Regions from separate parts of the Homo sapiens genome. Here region 1 is linked to region 2. The links are contacts of gene promoters, found by promoter capture Hi-C in blood cells and fetal thymus (Javierre and others, 2016). All regions are on one chromosome and are shown on one strand. Each heading gives the region's core, a stretch centred on a gene start or on the middle of the fragment in contact. The rest is flanking DNA. Distances are from core to core; before and after follow the strand shown.

Region 1 (5,181 bases), core at 2,331-4,830, 270 kb before region 2:
CCAGAGGATAGCCACTGTGTGAAGGGCCGAGGGGTCTCCCTGGCAGTGCCTCTAACACCTTGGCATGTCTTGGGATTCCAGTCAGCCAGCCGGGCTCTCCTCGGACAGGACTCCTCTTGTTTCTGGCCAAAATTCTGGTGAGGATGGTTGTGGGGGGAAGAGATAAGTCTGTGTTGGGAAAGGGACTAGGGCTCAATTCCAGCTCAGCAAATAAATATTCTGTTCAACCCTCTGCCTGCCCCCTACCTCCCACGCCCCCACTCTCCCACCCCCCGGTGCCTATCAGGCGACTTCCAGCCTTAAGGAAACTTTGCAGTGTGTCCCAATCCCCTGAGCACAGCCACACCTCTGAGCCTTTGCCCAGACAGTTGTCCCAACCTGACCACCTTTCCCCTCTCCAGCTGCCTTTGTCAACCCCCACCCTGGAGCTGGGTCAGGTGCCATCTGTCCCCAAGTCAGCGTCCATCATGTCAGCTTGTCTATGTTCATCTGGGGTGAGCCTGAGGGCAGGAGCTGGGTCCAGGGAAAATTCTAGGACATGCTGGATGAAGGAAACAGTGGGCTCCTGGAAGGGATCAGGGGTTGGGAGAGGACCAACTGTGTGCTCAGACCAGCTGTTCTGTGCCAGGGCCTCGAGGGGGGCACCTAGGAGCCTCAGGCCCCTCAAACCCCACAGCAAACAGCAAGAGAACAGGGTGTGGGGCACTCTGCCTGGGCTCTGCCGGCGAGGAGCAGGAACTGGACAGAACCAGAGTGAGCTGGAGTGTCTCCTCCTTAGCCTGGGCCCTGGGCAGCAGGGCTGGGAATGGAATTCTCCAGTTGGATGGAGCTGTTCCTGGAAAATCCCTATATGCCCTCCCAGAAATGTGCTCTTGTGCCTGGCTCTTGCTTCTTCAGAGTTGGAGGAGAAGGGACCTTTCTGCTGCTAGGCAATTCAGGCAAGGCCCTTACCCTCTCTGGACCCCTGGGCCTAGACTCCAGGACAGATGAGCAGGGATTTGTGCATCTATTGAGTGCCATCTGTCAGCCTCACTAAATTCTCTCACCCACCCTGAGAGGCAGGGATCAGGGTTCCCATCATTTGGGAAGGAGGTAGATGCTCGGAGATGCCAAGTGGCTTACCCAAGGTCACATAGCGGAGTTGGGACTCAAGCCCCTACCGATCGAGCGTCAGCCTGCACGCAGTTCCAGCCCCCGACCTACATTTAGGGTCCCTGAATGGACAGAGCAAGCCCGCAGGCTGAGGATGCCACTGCCAGCTCAGGTCCACCTGACTGAGGCCAGGCCTGGCCCTGTGCCTGCCACTCAGAATAACCCTTGTGGTTCTGGGCATGGATCGTGGCCCATCACCTGGGACCTATTTTTGTCCTTCGGGTAACAAGGAAGTCTCACCTTGTGCAGTAACTGTTTGGGACAAGGATGGAACATATGACCCCCCAACCCCAGCTGATCTTGCTGCCCTGCTGGGAAGTGACCCCAATAGGGAAGGGGAGGGCCTGCCCCAGCCACTTCCCAGAACTTGGCTTCCTACCCTCATCCCCCTCTTCTCAGCAGCCCATACCCCTGCACACACACACACACACACACACACACACACACACACCCCATAACCAGAGTCCCAGAGCATCTACATTTGTCCTTAGGATCCATTGCCACGCCTTATGCAGTGGCAATGCCACTTTCTCACATCTAGCTGTGGACCAAGCCCATTTCCTCAGGTTCCAGTCAGAGGGCTCTAGAACCCAGGTACAGTGGCCAGCCAGGGATCTAGCATCTAGAACTGGACATTCAGAATTGGGGGCCTGGAATCCTATGGGGCAGTGGCTGATGGCATTTGAAGAAATCACAGAAGCTGTGGGCACAACTACATCCACTCTGAAAGGTCAAGTGCCATCTCGAGGGTCAACCCCAAAAGCCTTATATAGAAGGGGGGATTCCTGTATGGAGTGGAGCACAGAGACATAGAGGGCACCCCAGCAGACTGAGAGGGGCTGCTTTCTGCTGAAACTAGGCGTGTACACATGTATGGGGATGGGGTGGGAAGGGTCATGTCCCGAACCCAGTAACATAAAATAAATGCATAGAAAAAAGACTGGAAAGAAATCTGGTAAAAACATAACTATAACAACAAAACCAAGAATGACTGCAGCTGTAATGACAATAATAACAGAAGCTGTTCCATTTTTTGAGAGCCAATTATGTGCCAGCCTCTGTGCTAAGTAAGGGCTTTGCTTGTATTATCTCAGTTAATCCCCACAGCATGCTCTTCTCTGGGTGGGGGTGGGTGGGCAGTGGCCTGTGGGGTGTGCTCTGTAAATGTGGTTGTTTTCTGCCAGGTCTGCAGCTTCCGCAGAGGTAGACAGAGGAGCCCTTAGGCCCCATCTATAGGAGATGTCGTGCTCTCCTTGCCAGCAATGCAGGGTGTGAGATGGGATGGCCAGCCCCCTTGGGGATGCCTTCGGGGAGCCAGCCAGGCCCACTGAGCTAACCTCAGCCCCCACTTGGCCCTACTCCTCTAGGCGTTGGGGCTCAAAATAGCAGCTGCTCGAGAGCTGACAATCAAAGGCCAGCTAAAAAAAGGCCCCTCAGTCTGGGCTCTGTCGCACACGGCTCGTAGAGCCTATTTTAGGGGAGAGGGTGCCGACATGCCAGTGGAAAATCCATAGGGCGGGAGTCTCCCAAAGTGGGAGACCCATATGCCTCCCTCTCCCCACTCTGGCCCCCCCACCCAAGTGCTCACGTGCACACACACTCACATTTTGCAGCCGTCAGCCTGCTTCCTGACCACTGGACCCTGTCATCTCCACCACAGCCCAGGAGAGGGATGAGGAAATTGAGGCTCAGAGATGGGAATTGACTTGCCCAAGATCACGAGGCTGGGAAGTAGGCAGGACAGCCACCAGATGGGGCCACTGTGGCTCACAGTTCAGTGCTCTCCCGTGGAAGAAGCCACATCACTGAGGAAGCCAATACATTGTTCTCTGGAGTGCCCAAAGCTCAGAGATGGGGCCAACGGTGGGGTGTTCTGGGTTGGACTGAGGGTGAGTAGGAGCTGAGGGTGACCTGTGGTCTTAGTCTCCGCATGGGAAGAAATCTCACTAGAACCCCCCAGGCCAATTCTGAGGGGACCTTGCCTGGCTGTGGGAGAGGCAGCTGGAGCGGGTCCTCATCGGCACTGAGCCCAGCCCAGCCCCCTCATCCTATCCCTGTGACCACCTCACGCCCTGCCCCGCCCAGGCCCCCAGAGGCTGGCAGGCCCTGCCAAGTTTCCAGGGAATGTGTCAGATAAAGGGCTGGTGCTCATGACTCTCTCCCACGTAGCAGCTATCTCTGACCCTACTGCCACTACCACTGCCACCGCCACTGGGAGGTGGATAAGAATAGCAACAGCCCCAGTGAGTGGGCACCCACAGGGACACAAACCATGTCTTTAGGTGTCCAGCCTCAGCCTCAGACTGAGGATGAGTCTCCAGGTTCCCCTTTCCATCAGTTCCAGCCCCACCTAGCTCCCCCATCATCCTGGGCCCAAAATCCTACCACATCTTAGGGTAAAACTCCAAGCCTCATCCCTTGTGGCTGCTGCCTCAGCAGGGGGAATCTGGAGGGGATGCCATCGCCACATTGATCCTGAGCTGGGGCCTGAGCCCTGCCCTTCACTGGGGAGCTGTATGACATGGAGCTGGACATTGTCCCTCTCAGGGCCCACAAGCAGGGCAAGGTGGCACAGCAGCCCCTGGAGAATGAGATAGCCAGCCGAGGCCTCTCCAGGGGCTGGGTACCCCGTTGTCCTGGTGACCACAGTCTAGTCTGGCTTCTGAGTGCCCCTGTGAATTCTGGCTTTCTGGTCAGTGGGGATGTGAAGACAGTGAGGGTCCTCATGTCTCACAGATAGGGGTCACTGGGATACGACCACTGGGTGGTGTTGGGGGGGCCCTGCATGAGTCCTGTGACACTCCTGTGAGGGTGTGAGGGTAGCTGCGTGACTACAAGGTAAGAGGCTGTTGTCATGGAACCCATGGTGAGCGTAGTTGTGACACCGGAATCGGGAGATCCAGGGAGCCTCATCTCCAACTGTGACACATGGGGGTGATGGAGGGAGCCGAGTCCCAGTCCCCACATCAGTGACTCCTGCAGCTCTCACAGCCTGACTCATTGCATGGCCCCGGACCTGGTACCCCCAGCCTCCTCGCCCCCGGCTCTGGCGCCTTTCTCTCCTCGCGTCCTCCCTGTTCTCAGGCGACTCTTCCTCTTTTGTACCCCCCCCATGTCACCCACCTACCAAAGGGGTCCCAGGGAGGAGGTCAGGGATGCTAGGGAAGAACGAGGAAGGGTGGGCCGAGGCAAGCTCCTCGCACACTCACACATTCCGATGCGTGCATCACACAGACCAGACTGCAGCATATACTTATACACCCACAGACACACGTGTGCACACACGCCTGGTAGAGTGACTGGGCCACTAAGAAGCCTCCCAAGCTCAGTCTTCCAACATCAGCCCTGTCTGGTAGGCCCCCACCACCCCTTAAGTCAGGGTCCCATGCCGCTGAGGCCCTCACATTAGAAACGCATCCTCCCGCCGCAGCAGTGTGTCTGGAGGTGACACCCTAGGAAGAACTTCTGCCCCGAGGCCCCAGCTAGAGTCCTGGGTGGGTGTAGGTAGATGTGGGTGGGGTGGGGTCTCTGAGGGCCCGAGACTGTTGCTTTCTTTGTGGGTGAGGGCCAGACTGACCTCTGGGCCTCCGGCTTCAAGAGCCCTAATCGCTGGGGCTGGAAAAAGTTTAAAAATATCCTCATGTTTACATTCTTTCCAAGCTGCCTCCTGATCCTCCGTGCTGGGTCCCTTTGATCTGGCCCAGTGCCTCTGGAAGGGGCCTGGGAGAAGGGGAGCATGAGGCCTCTGCTGGGGCCCACCCCTCAACCCCCTCCAGCTCCAGCCCAGAACCCTGTGAGACCCTGGACATCACAGACCCTAAGAGCACCTGGGCACTGGAAGGGAGCTGGGGCTGGAAGGGGTGTCTTGCACTCTTGCTTTGGGGCTGGAGCTGGGGCCCCTCTCCAAACTCCCTCCCAAAAGCCTGGGCCTCTTGGGACCTCTAGGGAGTGTGTGTAAGTGCGGGGATGTAGGTCCCTCAACAATCCATGCACTGGGGAAAGTCACATTTACTGAGCCCTGCAGTGCCT
Region 2 (5,241 bases), core at 1,134-3,633:
TGACTGCAAAGTACACAATAGTTTAAGAAGCATTGGTGGCTATGAGGTGGCTCATGCATGTAATCCCAGCACTTTGGGAGGCTGAGGCGGGCAGATCACTTGAGGTCAGGAGTTCAACACCAGCCTGGCCAACATGGTGAAACCCCCCGCCTCTGCTAAAAATACAAAAATTAGCTGGGTGTGGTGGCGTTTGCCTGTAGTCCCAGCTACTCAGGAGGCTGAGGCAGGACAGTCGCTTGAACTTGGGAGGTGGAGGCTGCAGTTAGCCAAGACAGTGCCATAGTGACATAGTGGGTGACATAGTGAAACTGTCTCCAAAAAAAAGAAAAGAAAGAAAGAAGGAAAGAGAGAGAGAGAGAGAAAGAAAAAAGAAAGGAAGAAAGAAAGAAATAAAGAAAGAAGAGAAAGAAGCATGGATATTGATACTTGCATAGGGAGGGGAAGGGTCCCAAAGCCCCAGCTCCACCACCCAAACTTCAGGTCCCAGGTAGGAAGCAGAGGCACTTTCTCTGTGCCATTTATGGCAGGAGTGGGGAGGTTGGGGGTGGAGAGAGGATGGGGATCCTCTCCTATCATTTTCTAAAGATTGGGGGATTAAAATCTTGATGCATCTGGGTTCCTTGGGAACTTAATGCGGGGTGGACACTGCAGGCCAAAAGCAGTTCTGTCTGCACAGGGGGCCTCTGGGCCTGGAAAGCGGGGACAGGAGCCCAGAGAGTCTGCTGCCTCCGATGCTGCTTCAGCCCCCTCAAGAAAGTGTGGAACCTGCAGGGCCTCTAGATGTGAGTACCCCTTCTGCTGAAACAGGGGCATGAGACCTGGTGGGGTCTAGCTCTCTGTGGAGCCTGGGGAGGGCACCACTGACCCAGAGCTCTCCTCAGGTGCTGGGCCCCAGTCTCCAAGGGCGAGAATGGACCCTGATGGACTTGGACATGGAGCTGTCCTTGGTAAGAAGTGGGTCGGGGAGGGCAGAGGCCAGGGGTGGCTGAGTCAAGCCCTCTGGTCCATAGCTGTTCTCTGTGAGCCAAAGCCGTGTCTCTAGAAGAATTGTCACAGTGATTTCCCAGCTGTCCCCCTCAGCTGCTAGGTCCCCTCCCCAGCTGCTCCCTGCGGTTCTCACGCAGATGCAGCCCTTGGTTCCAGAGCGGGGTGAGCCTGAGCTGGCGGTCAAGGGGTTAAATTCTCCAAGCCCAGGTAATGGTTGTGATGACTCCTACCTGGGAGGACGCCGTGATTGGGCTGAGCTACCTTGATTGAGTGAGGGGGCAATCTGCAATTTGCAGGGAAATCCTGAGTTCAGGCTGCACTGCAGAGCGTTCCTTGAGCCACCCATGCCCTCACCATTGGGCGAGAGTGGGGAGGTTAAGAATGGATGTTTTATCCTAACTGAGCAGAAGGCAGGCGGGCAGGGCTCTCCTTCCCTGAAGAAAGGAGGGGGAACATTTCCCCTGGTGAGCGCAGTCCCACTTCTCCTAGGGAAGGACCCCACGCTCGGGGCCCCACTCCTGCTGGATGTCCAGGCGGCCTTGGGAGGCCCAGCCCTGGGCCTGCCTGGGGCTTTAACCATTTATAGCACTCCTGAGAGCCGGACTGCCTCCTACTTGGGCCCGGAAGCCAGTCCCTCCCCCTAAGACCCCGCGCCTCTGAAGGGGCTTGGAACCAGTCCGCCGCTGCACATCCTTCTTGGCTTCCTGGCGCCCCCTATCGGGGGTGAGCGAAGCCCCCACTACTAAATGGCCTCTCTCCACTACCCCGACTATCCCTGCACATAAACTCCGTTTTTTTTTTTTCTGTTTCTGGTCTCTTTTCTCTATCGACCAGGGAGCACAGGAGTTATGGGTGGGGGGTGATTTTGCATTTGTAGAAGCGTCCAGATACTAGGTTTTTAATAGAGGAACCCCAGGAGGGTGGAGGTGCTTGGGGATCCGGTGCCTAGCTCCCTTGCTTAGGCCCGGGTCCAGGGCTGGCGCGGGGCCGCTGCAATCTCTGGGAAGCGGGGGCTTCTGGGTCGCGCTCAGCTCTGCAATGCATGCGTTCTGTGATCCTGGTGAGTTGGTATCCTTCTCTGAACTTCCTCTGTGACAGGCAGAGAAGAGGGGTCGATGACAAGATAGATGGAAAGCACCTGGAAATTGGCAGGCCCTGAGTGGGCGCTGGACGTGTGGGGCCGCGGGCCGAACTGCCCCCTCCTGGCCTCATCTCCTGGTGCGCCCCGGGTGGGGAGGGAAAGCTGACTACATGCACGTCCCCAGCCAGCGCGCGGCCTCCGCGGTGTGGCTCCTAGTGCCCGGGGAAGAACCCTCACCCTCCCTATTCCCAGCAGCCCTGGCCGCCCCGCCCCCGCCGCAGCTGCTGCACCCACCCCCACCCTGCCCGGCCCTTTCTGCACCGTCATCTCCTGCCCCGCCGAGGCTTGACCCGTGAGTGGGGACGCCCAAAACGGGCCAGACCGGGAGCCCCACTCCCGGCTGTGGGAGGGAAGGGAAACCGAGATTGGGCAGAATCAGCGCCCCACCACCCGCTGCGGCGCTCGGGGGTCGGGGGGGCGGGGTGGGTAGGACTGTGGGCCCCGCCCTGCCGCAGGACTCTCAAGCTCTGGGACTGGGTGGAGGGAGGTAAGGGGCGGGGGGGGAAAATCCGTGCAGTCGCACATGCGCAAAGGCTCTTCACTGTCCCAAGACCCTGGCTTCCTGGCCAAAGAGCCCGCGCAGCGAGGTGGGGTTGGGGGCTGGGACCCAGCTCCGTGCCCCGCCACCTGGCTCTCTGGGAAGAATCGGACCTGTCACCCTCGAAGGACTGGCCGCTAAATAACTTCGGTATTGAGAGCTGTGTGAGCCTCAAAGGGAGGGCCCAGACCAGCTGGAGTCTCTACCCCCAGACAGGATAAAGGGCAGGACTTGGGGTCATAGGAGGAGGCGGCTAACATGAAAACAACTTAGGTTGGAGAGAAGGAGGGGCCAATCCAATCTGCACCCTCCCTGTGTCTGTCCCGAGTAGGTGCTGTCCCCCTCTCCCTTCCTTTGCCCACCGATTGGAGGGACACTCTGGAAAACTCAGTTGAAGAAAGCGGAGAGTCTGCGTGTACACAGTGCAATGATGTCAGTTAATGCACTAGTGAGGGCATGTGTTGTTCACGGTACACAGAAGAAGGAACCACCAGCCCTTGGGACACTTAGGCATTGGTGTAGACAAGGGAACATTTGAGTCCTGGACGATGGATAGGTCCACGGAGCGGAGGGAGGAGAAAAGGATTCCAGTCTTAGCGATCAGCATCAGCAAAGGCTCCGAGGTGCCAGAGGCATAGTGAGTTCTCCGATCCCTGGCTGGTGGAGGGAAGCTGGGAAGGGCCTGGCTGTCCAGGGTGGTGGGAGGAGGCTAGAGTAGCCAGACCAGATATTTTGGGTTGTCTCTGATGGGCAGTGGGGTGTGGGGGGGAGGTAGATAGGTATTTAGGATGGAATTCTGCTAGACAGGAAAATATAGTTCAGTTCCTCATAGTTCAGGCTGGAGCAAGTAAGATTCCAGTTTTACCACTGAATCTCTGAGCCTGTCTCCTCATCTGTAAAATGGGAACAGCAATCCTAGCCCAGAGGGTTGTCAAAGTCACTGTGCTATCGGGCCTGGCAGAATGGGAGTGAGAGGGGCTCAGAGGGACTGTTACAGGACATGAGGTGACGATGGTGGGGTGGCAAGGCAGGAGCTGATGGAGACTCACTGAGAAGTGGAGAAGCAAGATTCATCACATACGGGACATAAAGGGAGATGGAGGGGCAGGGGGTAGTCCTGGTCTCGGCCTGGTGGGGAAGGGCTTCAATGGGAGGAAGCCAGGGTGTGAAGTGACGGGGGAGGTATAGTGTGACACCAGAGGGTACTGAGAAAGACCTGGGAGGCAGGATGGCGGCTAGGACTAAATCCTCTCTCCCAGAGAAGGCCGAGCCTCCTAGAGCCAGAGAAGGAGGCAGAGGAGGGACAGCAAAGGGAAGAAGAGATGGGAGGATGCCGTGTGAACAAAGCCAAGGCGGGGAGGAGAAGAAGTTATTATCAGGGTGGGGGTGGGCTGAGGGCATGGTTCAAGGCCTGATGTCTTTGCCTCCTAATGCCGGGGGTCTTGCTGGCTGGGTCAGGCCACTCACAGGAATGGGCCATAATCCTTGGTTGACAATAAATGGACAAAGCAGCTGGGTGCGGTGGCTCATGCCTGTAATCCCAACACTTTGGGAGGCCAAGGTGGGTGGATCACGAGGTCAGGAGTTCGAGACCAGCCTAGCCAACATAGTGAAACCCCGTCTCAACTAAAAACACAAAAAATTAGCTGAGCGTGGTGCGGGCACCTGTAATCTCAGCTACTCGGGAGGCTGAGGCAGAAGAATCGCTTGAACTCAGGAGGCAGAGGTTGCAGTGATGAGAGAATGTGCCACTGCACTCCAGCCTGGGCAACAGAGTGAGACTCTGTCAAAAAAAAAAAAAAAAAATGGATAAAGCAGATTGACTCTCCCTAATAGCCGCTGTTGGTAGAGATAGTCTCTCAAGAGCCAGGCATGGTGGTTCACATGGTGGTTCACAAAGTGCTGGTAATCCCAGCACTTTGGAAGGCTGAGATGGGAGGATTGCTTGAGGCCAGCAGTTCGAGACCAGCCTGATCAATATAGCAAGACCAGGACAGGCGCGGTGGCTCACGCCTGTAATCCCAGCACTTTGGGAGGCCAAGGCAGGTGGATCACGAGGTCAGGAGTTCAAGACCAGCCTGGCCAACATAGTGAAACCCCGTCTCCACTAAAATAAATAAATACAAAAAATATATATAGCAAGACCCCACCTCTAAAAAAAAAAAAAAAAAAAAAGGCTGGGCACGAGAATCACTTGAGCCTGGGAGGCGGAGGTTGCAGTGAGCCAAGATTGCGCCACTGCACTCCAGCTTGGGCAACAGCGAGACTCCATCTCAAAAAAAAAAAAAAAAAAGTCTCTCAAAATAGTGCGATCCATGGAGGAAAATCAGTCCAAGTTCGGCAAGTATTTGTCGGTATCCTGTATGAGCTAGGCCTTGGGTACTTCAAGATCAAACAACAAATGTCTGTAGGTAATTCCCAGGTCAGCAGGGAGCCAGGTGGGTCAGCAGAGAGACAGTCACATTAGGAGTTAGGGCTTCAGTAGGGAGACAGGTGGGTCTCAGGTGATGTCAAGAGATCTTGGTCAGAGCTAGGCCTGAAGAAGATTCTGGTATCTCTGCTCAGGAATCAGGGG

What was found. The method cuts DNA at HindIII sites, captures the fragments that hold promoters and counts their contacts. A CHiCAGO score of 5 or more calls a contact.
Region 1: a fragment that was not itself captured here is called in contact with the fragment with the promoter of NOL3 in region 2 in 1 of 17 cell types (erythroblasts); the score reaches 6.8 in erythroblasts.

Annotation. Positions count from the first base shown.
Region 1 is chr16:66,900,535-66,905,715 of GRCh38, forward strand. It overlaps LOC107984821 (a long non-coding RNA gene), which reads right to left and starts at 4,726. Exons shown (of 3, transcript XR_001752244.2): 1 at 4,557-4,726; 2 at 59-134. RefSeq lists enhancers at 1-363, 2,639-5,123. The HindIII fragment of the contact is 9,071 bases long and covers 1-5,181 here.
Region 2 is chr16:67,168,155-67,173,395 of GRCh38, forward strand. NOL3 (nucleolar protein 3) reads left to right here and starts at 2,384. Exons shown (of 4, transcript NM_001276309.3): 1 at 2,384-2,420. It overlaps HSF4 (heat shock transcription factor 4), which reads left to right. Exons shown (of 13, transcript NM_001374675.1): 10 at 677-782; 11 at 882-947; 12 at 1,125-1,194; 13 at 1,477-1,787. The coding sequence ends at 1,631. RefSeq lists enhancers at 1,441-1,490, 1,981-2,130 and silencers at 2,341-2,630, 4,271-4,434. The HindIII fragment of the contact is 13,408 bases long and covers 1-5,241 here.